3 separate regions of the Homo sapiens genome follow, and regions 2 and 3 are each linked to region 1. Evidence: promoter capture Hi-C in 16 types of primary human blood cells and fetal thymus (Javierre and others, 2016). All regions are on one chromosome and are shown on one strand. Each heading gives the region's core, a stretch centred on a gene start or on the middle of the fragment in contact. The rest is flanking DNA. Distances are from core to core; before and after follow the strand shown.

Evidence for each region. Contacts are between HindIII fragments. The CHiCAGO score rates a contact against its expected background, and 5 or more counts as called.
Region 2: the fragment with the promoter of PAIP2B here is called in contact with the fragment with the promoter of PRADC1 in region 1 in 2 of 17 cell types (naive CD8 T cells and neutrophils); the score reaches 9.3 in naive CD8 T cells.
Region 3: a contact is called between a fragment that was not itself captured here and the fragment with the promoter of PRADC1 in region 1, in 2 of 17 cell types (naive B cells and fetal thymus). The highest score is 8.2, in naive B cells.

What each region holds. Positions count from the first base shown.
Region 1 is chr2:73,231,981-73,234,680 of GRCh38, reverse strand. PRADC1 (protease associated domain containing 1) reads left to right here and starts at 1,442. Exons shown (of 5, transcript NM_032319.3): 1 at 1,442-1,587. The coding sequence starts at 1,521. It overlaps CCT7 (chaperonin containing TCP1 subunit 7), which reads right to left and starts at 373. Exons shown (of 12, transcript NM_006429.4): 1 at 297-373. The coding sequence starts at 302. RefSeq lists enhancers at 486-555, 676-725, 367-898 and a silencer at 1,186-1,395. The HindIII fragment of the contact is 3,259 bases long and covers 403-2,700 here.
Region 2 is chr2:71,225,735-71,228,434 of GRCh38, reverse strand. PAIP2B (poly(A) binding protein interacting protein 2B) reads left to right here and starts at 1,332. Exons shown (of 4, transcript NM_020459.1): 1 at 1,332-1,507. RefSeq lists enhancers at 1,047-1,186, 1,402-1,902. The HindIII fragment of the contact is 3,788 bases long and covers 1-2,700 here.
Region 3 is chr2:71,069,655-71,072,354 of GRCh38, reverse strand. NAGK (N-acetylglucosamine kinase) reads right to left here. Exons shown (of 10, transcript NM_017567.6): 2 at 1,769-1,853; 3 at 1,516-1,614; 4 at 528-669. Among named protein-coding and RNA genes, the nearest start is that of NAGK, 2.4 kb to the right of the region's middle. The HindIII fragment of the contact is 539 bases long and covers 983-1,521 here.

The DNA.
Region 1 (2,700 bases), core at 193-2,692:
TAAAAAAGAGGTCCCCGACGTGGGTTCGCGGGCCCGAAGCACCCTGGGACTTGTAGTCCCCAACCGGCCAGCCCAGAGACTCCTCTAAAGCCCCACGCAGCCCTCGCCAACGGCTCCAGCGCCGTGCTCGGGCCGAGCCAGGCCGCGGCTGGCTGGGGTCGCCCCTAAGCTGGGGATCTGGGCGAGGACAGAGGCGGCAAGCAAAAGAGGGTCCTACAGAGCAAGCCCAGGCCGAGCGGCGCCGGCCACCGGCCAGATGGCAGCTGATGGCGACGGATGCGCGAGACGCCACTCACCATCATTTTGGAAGCTTATTCAGCGGCCCGCCACTCTCCCCTCTTCTCCGAGACCGGGCCGCCCAGCAACCCACAATGCCTCGCGCAATAGAAATACCCAGAAGCTTGGGCCGGGAGAGGAAGAGAACGGACCACTTCCGCTACTCTATGGTTCGTTACCACCGACTCGGTGCGGCTAGAAGGACCTGAGGCTGGGCTTCGGGGACTCTCTAGTGAGGGGCGTTCATTAAAGAGGGGTCGCCGCATTTCGGTCGTGCTTCTTAGAGCACGGAGGGTCTTTGCTCGGCCCGCATCACCTACTAACTTAATTCCACCCTCCTCCATCCCCGGACGCCAGACCAAGGAATGCAATAAAGGCAAAAGTGTGGGACGCAAAGTGTGGGATAGGCTGGTGCCAAAGCACTTTACGTGAGCGATCTCATTTAATCCTCACAACCCTATTGCGTTGGTCCTATTAAGGCCATTTTACTGATGACAGAAAGGAGGCTGAGAGGTCAAGGTGTCCAGTGTCACAGTTACATAGTCAGTGTCAACGGGACGAGCGTGGGAAGCTGCCCCCAATGCCCGTTTTCTGGCTTTGCACTGGCCAGAGGCTCCTCGTGGATGGCGTGCGCCAGGCCGCGGCCCCAGCGCCTATCCACGGTGAGCGCGCAAGCGTTGGTGGCACTGGGCGGAAGACCCCCTGGCGCAAGACGAGTGCCTTCCCGTGAAGGCGTGGGGAGGAGGGAAGCGCAGCTGGGAGGAGGGAAGCGCAGCTGGGAGAAGGCTAATCGTCGTCAATCGAGGCGGCCTTGGAGTGGACAGGACCGAGACCGCAAGGGTTAACGGCCTCGACTATCGACAGCTGAAGCAAGTCCGGCTACGGGCACACCTCCAGTGCTTGTCCTCCCTGGCCCGCCCACCGCCAGCGAGGACCCGGAGAGTATGCTGGGGCGGGGCTGAGGCGAAGGCCGGTTGTAGCTGTTAAGAGTTTAAGCCAATCAGCCCCCGGCTCCACTTCTCTCGACCAATAGGAAGTAGGCTAAGGCGCAGAGGCGGAAAGTGTGGCTACATGAGCAGGCGTCAGAGCCAATCAGCCTTGAGCCTCGTTCCCGTCGTCCAGCCCGCGGCGAGAGCGGGTATGTGGGCGGGAGGCCGGAGCAGCTGTCAGGCTGAAGTCCTGCGAGCGACGCGCGGCGGGGCGGCGAGAGGAAACGCGGCGCCGGGCCGGGCCCGGCCCTGGAGATGGTCCCCGGCGCCGCGGGCTGGTGTTGTCTCGTGCTCTGGCTCCCCGCGTGCGTCGCGGCCCACGGTGAGCGGCAACGGGTGGGACTGCGTTGCAGGGCGGGGCTGGCCGTCCAGCTTGCGCGCGTCTCGGGTTGGGGGCCAAGGGTCACCTTGGGGACCCTGCGAGTTCAGAGCAGGACAGGTCTGGGAGCGGGCGGCCGGAATAAGTGGGTGGTGGTCCAAGGACATAAAGTGGGCGCAGCCTGAGGCTGAAGCTCTGACTCCTCACCTTCCCACGACAAAGCAGATCTCCCCACTCGCCCCTCCCCGCCCACTAGCGCCGACCCAGGTGACTTAGGGTGCGACCAGAAGGGACAGCTAAGGAAGGATACTACAGGCTGGAGATATGTATGTGAGCATTCACATGTACACAGGAGCACACATTCCTACACGTGGGCACACACGCACAAACCGTTTACACCTACACAAGCACATAAATGTATACATCTATGCACATAAGTGAGCACATACGTATACCCACAACTTACACAAATAAGCACACACAAAGGCAAGCAAGGGTTGGGGAGGAGGGAGTGAGTTTGACGCTAGTCCAGGAAGGCTTTCTGGGGGTGTATTTGTATCCGAGAGGGAGTCCCCACTCCCAGGACTGTATAGCCCAGTGCCAAGCCATGGGAGCTCTAACTGATGGCTGTGATTTGGGCAGTAAACAAAGACAGCTAAAGCCTTAATGCCATCCTTGGTACACAGTAGTGACTTGGTAGTTTGTTGATAGACTAACAGACTTGTGACAGCAGTTTTCTTTTTTTCTTTTTTTTTTTTTTGAGACGGAGTCTTGCTCTGTCGCCCAGGTTGCAGTGCAGTGGCCCGATCTCGGCTCACTGCAAGCTCCGCCTCCCGGGTTCACGCCATTCTCCTGCCTCAGCCTCCCAAGTAGCTGGGACTACAGGCGCCCACCACCACGCCCGGCTAATTTTTTTGTATTTTTAGTAGAGACGGGGGTTTCACCGTGTTAGCCAGGATGGTCTCGATCTCCTGACCTCGTGATCTGCCCGCCTCGGCCTCCCAAAGTGCTGGGATTACAGGCGTGAGCCACCGCGCCCGCCCATGACAGCAGTTTTTATCTTTCAACATTCCGCAGTCTCTCTGGGTTAAGGAAACCAGGGACTCAAGTCCAGGT
Region 2 (2,700 bases), core at 83-2,582, 2.0 Mb after region 1:
TGCCCCCATGATCCAATCGCCTCCCACCAAGTCCCTCCCCCAACATTGGGAATTATAATTCAAAATGAGATTTGGGTGGGGACACAGAGCCAAACCATATCAAAGTATACAGCTAATATTTATAATTGTTATTTGAGTTTATCTTTTTCATTTTTATATTTTTTCCATTCATTCTGCAATTCCCTAACTTTGTGTCATGTATACAGTCAGCTTGAGAGGTGGGGGGGAGAGAAAAATGTATAAAGTAAGAGCTCCACAAAGAAATCCCTACTTCCTGTGGAATACAATTCGAAGTCCTTTGCAAGCAGATTGGACATTCTAAATCCAAGGGAGGCAATAAAGTTTTATTTTAATTTGTATTTATTGATGTATTTTTTTTTGAGTCGCAACCTCACTCTATTGCCCAGATTGGAGTGCAGTGGTGCGATCTTGGCTCACTGCAACCTCTGCCTCCCGGGTTCAAGTGATTCTCCTGCCTCAGCCTCCCGAGTAGCTGGGACTACAGGAGCCCGCCACCACGCCCAGCTAATTTTTGCATTTTTAGTAGAGACGGGGTTTCACCATACTGGCGAGGCTGGTCTAGAACTCCTGACCTTGTGATCCGCCCGTCTCGGCCTCCCAGAGTGGTGGGATTACAGGCGTGAGCCACCGCGCCCGGCCAAGTTTTATTTTTTTAAAGCACTCAAGAAGTTAGGTTTGTTTCTAGAAACGTGGAAGCATCCGTCTGCTTCCTTCCAGCGTCCCTTTGCTTCCTTCCAGCCTCCCAAGGAGCCCAATTCCTTAATTTTCCCTACAGAGAATAGCACCAGGTCCAAAGCAGCCTGAATCAAAGCTCCTCCTTTGGTAATTGACAGCTGAGGGAAATCCTACTGAGGCCCACCCCCACCCTCCTCCTTGCTAGGCTGACAGGCAAAACTCGGTGGCAGTGGCTTCCAGCTCAGCCAATAGACGAAGCGGGAGCAAGAGCCTGTGTAAACAAACCCAGAGTGCGGCGCCTTGGTCTCCTCCCCCACGAGTGGGCCGGGCGCATCCTTGGCCCAATGCCTATCCCAGGCTAGCGTAGCGTCCTTTCAGCCAATCAGAGCCGGCATCTCCCTCAAGGAGGTGTTCCACCACAGGAAAAAAAAAATGAAGGAAGAGAAAAGACAGACATTAAAACCAATCAGAAGCTGAAACTTCTGAGGGAGTGGGCGGGCACTGCTTCACATTTAGACCAATAAAAACCACATATGCCATTCTAGGTGACCGAACGGCATCTTCTTTGGCCCAATAGACGAATGGGGCGGTGCCCGGCAACCAATGGCTTGGGTTCGGGGGCGGGGCGAGGAGGCAGTGTGCAGTAAGAGATAACCTGGCAAGTGGTAGTGGCGCTTCTCGGGTGCTGTGCTTCACGTTTTGGTACTAAAGGCCGAGACTGTTGTGGCGACGGCGACCTCTACGGCAACGGCTTAAGCTCTCGGAGGAGTGGCAGAGTACGATCTGAAGGAGGGGCTTCTGGTTAGCCCAGGTGGGCTCGGGTGCCCGGGCTGCTGGGGAAAGGACTCGAGGGAAACGCCGTTCTCCCGGCTCTGGGGGCGCCCTGCGCCTCCCTTTCTGCCGCCGTCGGGGCTGTGAAGGGCGGCACGCGCCTGCCCGAGCTCCTGTAGGGAGGGAAAGCGCGCGGGGTCCCACGTCGCGGCCATCGGCGAAAAGGGGCGTCCGCTGGGGTCAGCCCCTGCCCCTCGGGAGCAATAGGGGGTTTTCGTCCCTTTCCCCCCCGCACAGGTGCTCTGTTTCCCCCCGACTCCCACCCAAGTTCCTGACTCCCCTCAGCGTCCTCCTAACACTCGAACCGAATTCTTGGCCTGAGTCCCATTTCTACCCAGGTGCAACAATGCTAGGCAAATTGACCCGCGCGGCATCCCCCGCCCCTCTCCCCGGGCTGGAGCGGGAGGGATTGCGCGTCGTGCCCTTCCCCTATTCGCGGCCCCTGCGCGTCCTCTGCCTTTTTATACTTGCTCCATCTCCCCCTTGACTCCAGCCCTCATTCTTCATGCCTCATTTGCCTGGGAGACGTTCGCCACTTCTCTTGTGCCTTGCGGTCCGTGAGTGAGCCCATCACCCCCTACCAACCCCTAAATTCCATTCTCATCTCTCCAGAAAACTAACATTTTCCACTTGCCTCTTCCAGGCAGCTGGAAGGTGAACTGAGAGAGGCAGAATACGCAGAACAGGGAGTTTGGCAAGGTTGGGAACTTTAATGTTTTGTTCCTGGTAGACTGTTTTTGCCTTCAAATGGCATTTGACCATTATACCCGCTCTAGAATCTTTGTCCTAATGCAGTTCTTTTGGTGGTAATTGCTGAAAATGCAGTTGAAAAGGGCTAACTAGAAGCAAGGGATTTAAATTTTGTTACTATTATTTTCAGTAAATTGAATTGGATTATACTTTAAACAGCTTAACTGGGGTTTCTGGGAGTTTGTAGTGTAAGGGCCTGGCTACCCTACTTTGTCATAAAATATAGAACATACTTAGTTGTACAGCACAGTGTGATTCGATCACACCCAACCTATGAAGGGATAATAACAGCATTGAATCTGTCCAAAAACAACATTCCCTGTTCCCTTTTCACCTTCATAGTATATTCGTTTGGTTTCTAGTAATGTCGGTTCTAGCCATATGTTTTTTGATAACAGTACAAACTATGCTGTGCCTAAGTAA
Region 3 (2,700 bases), core at 3-2,502, 2.2 Mb after region 1:
TACCTGCTTTACTGGGATTGTGCTAGACCCGTTCTCACAGTGATATTCACTCATACCCTAAACCATCTTATGAATACAACTTCCTCTATTTTATAGATGAGAAAACTGAAACTCAGAGTTTTGGAACTTCGCCAACATGGTATAGCAGGCAAAACAGGAACTGGGATTCAAACACCAATCCCATGACACCAAAACTCTTTACACTATCACAAGGCCACCCCACTTCCTCCTCAGCACTGACAGCTTCCCCAGCCTGCCTTCCTCACTACACCGCCCCCAGGTGGTCCCTCATCTGCAGGGGAGTTATGTTTGACCCCACTCCTGGATTCCCATCAAGAGACCTTTCTTGCCCTTCCTCCTGCTGCCTGGTCCTTGCTCTGGCAGAGACTTAAACTACTTAAAGAGTTGAGGGGAATATAAGAGTGGCTGCCTTCTGGATATTTGCAGAACAAGTTTTGTCAGCTATATCTAAGGGGCTTTCCCAAAAAAACCAGTTCTCACTCTCACCCCTCCCTCCACTTCCTCACCATCCGGTGTAGCTGTGGCGATGGAGCCGGCGGCATCGGTGGTGATTAAGTAGCTTTCACTCAGGTAGGGAAATCGGTCCCTCAGCTCCTCGATCAGGATCCTCCCCGCGTCCTCCTGGTCCCCACCGCTCAGAGATAGGCCCTAGGCCACGCGGGAGGTGAGCGAGTGTGCAGAGCCCCAGCCCCAGCTCTTTTCTCAACCCCCGCCCCCTCCTGATGCCTGATTCCTGTTCTCCCCATCTGGCCATACCCTGTTCACCCAGCCCCAGTCCTCCTTTCTCCCCACACAATGACCCCTCAGAAGGCTGTGGTTATAAGAACAACCTGGACTGGGGATGGACAGAAGAAAGAGGGGATTCAACAATGCCAGCTTTGGAGCTTGGAAGGGCAGTAGTGCTCTTAACAGAAAGATCAGGCAGCGGGGCAAGGTGAGGGGAGATGGAGAGAGGTAAGCTTGGTTTGGTATACACGAGGTTTGCCTGTGTCTGCAGAACATCTCACATATATGTCCAGGGAGTAGCTGGAGCTACCGCAACTTGGGAGAAAGATCTGAACCAGGAGTAAATAATAGCTAACATTTAATGAGTGCTTATGGGTCAGGCTCTATACTAACCACTTTGCAATGTATCATGCCATTTTACTTTCCCAACAACTCTGAGGTAGCTACTATTCACATTTTCCAAATGAGGAAACTGAGGCTTAGAGAAGGTGAGTAACCTACACAGGGTTACGCAGATACTGAGCAGCAAAGCTGGGATTCAAACCAAGGTCTCAGCAGCTCTCCAAAGCCCTGTGCTCTTCCAACACATTTGTAGTTTGTAGGTGGCAACTGAAGCCATGAGACTGGGTGAGATTATGACAGTTTTGACACCAGGGACTAAGTCTTGGAGGTCTTTCCCTCTGCAGTCATCAAACTCATCTAGTCCAAACTTGCTAGCTGTCTCAGTGTCACAGATGGCTGAATTCCCAGGCTCCGCCCCAGACTCACCAAGCTTCGCAGCGGTACCAGAGGATCCACCCCTGCTTTCCGTTTGGCCCTGTTCACCATCTCATTGATCCTCTCCACACACTTGTCTGTCCCGATCAGCTGGCCCCAATCAAGGGAAGAAGGAGTTACAAAGGCTTACAGAAGCTATGTTGCCCCCACAGGCTGCTCTGTGAGTCCCAGCCACCACCTCAACAGGAATTACAGAGAATAAAATCAGAACCAAGCCCTCTGATCCCCTCAGTGTGGTTTTTACCCAGTGGTTTGTGCTCAGTCCATCTGCTTCTGCCAGGATCTTCCCATCCTCTGAGACTAAAAGGACCTCGGATCGTGTGCCTCCCCTACAGAACACAAGAGGGCACTTGATCTTGCTCGGAAAAACCCACAGAGAGAGCTAAGCTTGTGCTGTCCACACTGGCAGAGCCCAGTATGATGGAGGAGACAGCTTCGACAAACTCAATCACCACTCCCAAACCCGCCTCTGTGGTTCAGTGTTTGAGTGCTCTTTAACTGAAACATAATTCTCACTCCTCTTCCCTTGGGGATGTCCTCCTTATCCTGCAAGACTCTACTTACGCTTCACCTAGTCCTCGAAACCTTTTCTGAGGTGTGGCCCACCCCAACGAATTAGTTAAGTCTCCGTTAGTTAAACCTTCATAGTGCCTCCAAAGTTATTAAAGTCTCCTCTGTATGAAGTGTGTGTTCAGACGCTTTGTGTCCGCCTCTCACTAGACTTCAAGCTCCACTGGGTCAAGCTCCTGATCACTTACTTACCCTCTCAGAACGAGCACAGGAGCTGGCACAGGCAATGCTCAGCAAACACTCCTAAGAAAAATGGCACATCTCTCTGCTTCCCTCACAATAGCTAAAGACTGCATTTCAAGATCCAGCTGCCAAGGTCTTCAAGACACCTTTGCTAGAAATGCTGACCAGATGGCAGGGTGACTTCATACATACTTAAGCAACTAAACCTTCAAATGTTGATTACTGGGGGTCACAGTAGTTCACAGGGAGATCTGTGGTGATGGGATATATGTTTCTTTATTGATCATTACTTTTAGGAATGGCAGAAGAAGACACTGAAGACCGCTCATCAAACTCAAAGAGGACATGAAATTTCAAGGGGGTAGTTAATACATGAGGTGGCAGATTCCACATCCAAAAGCATGTCTTGACGAACTGGAAGAA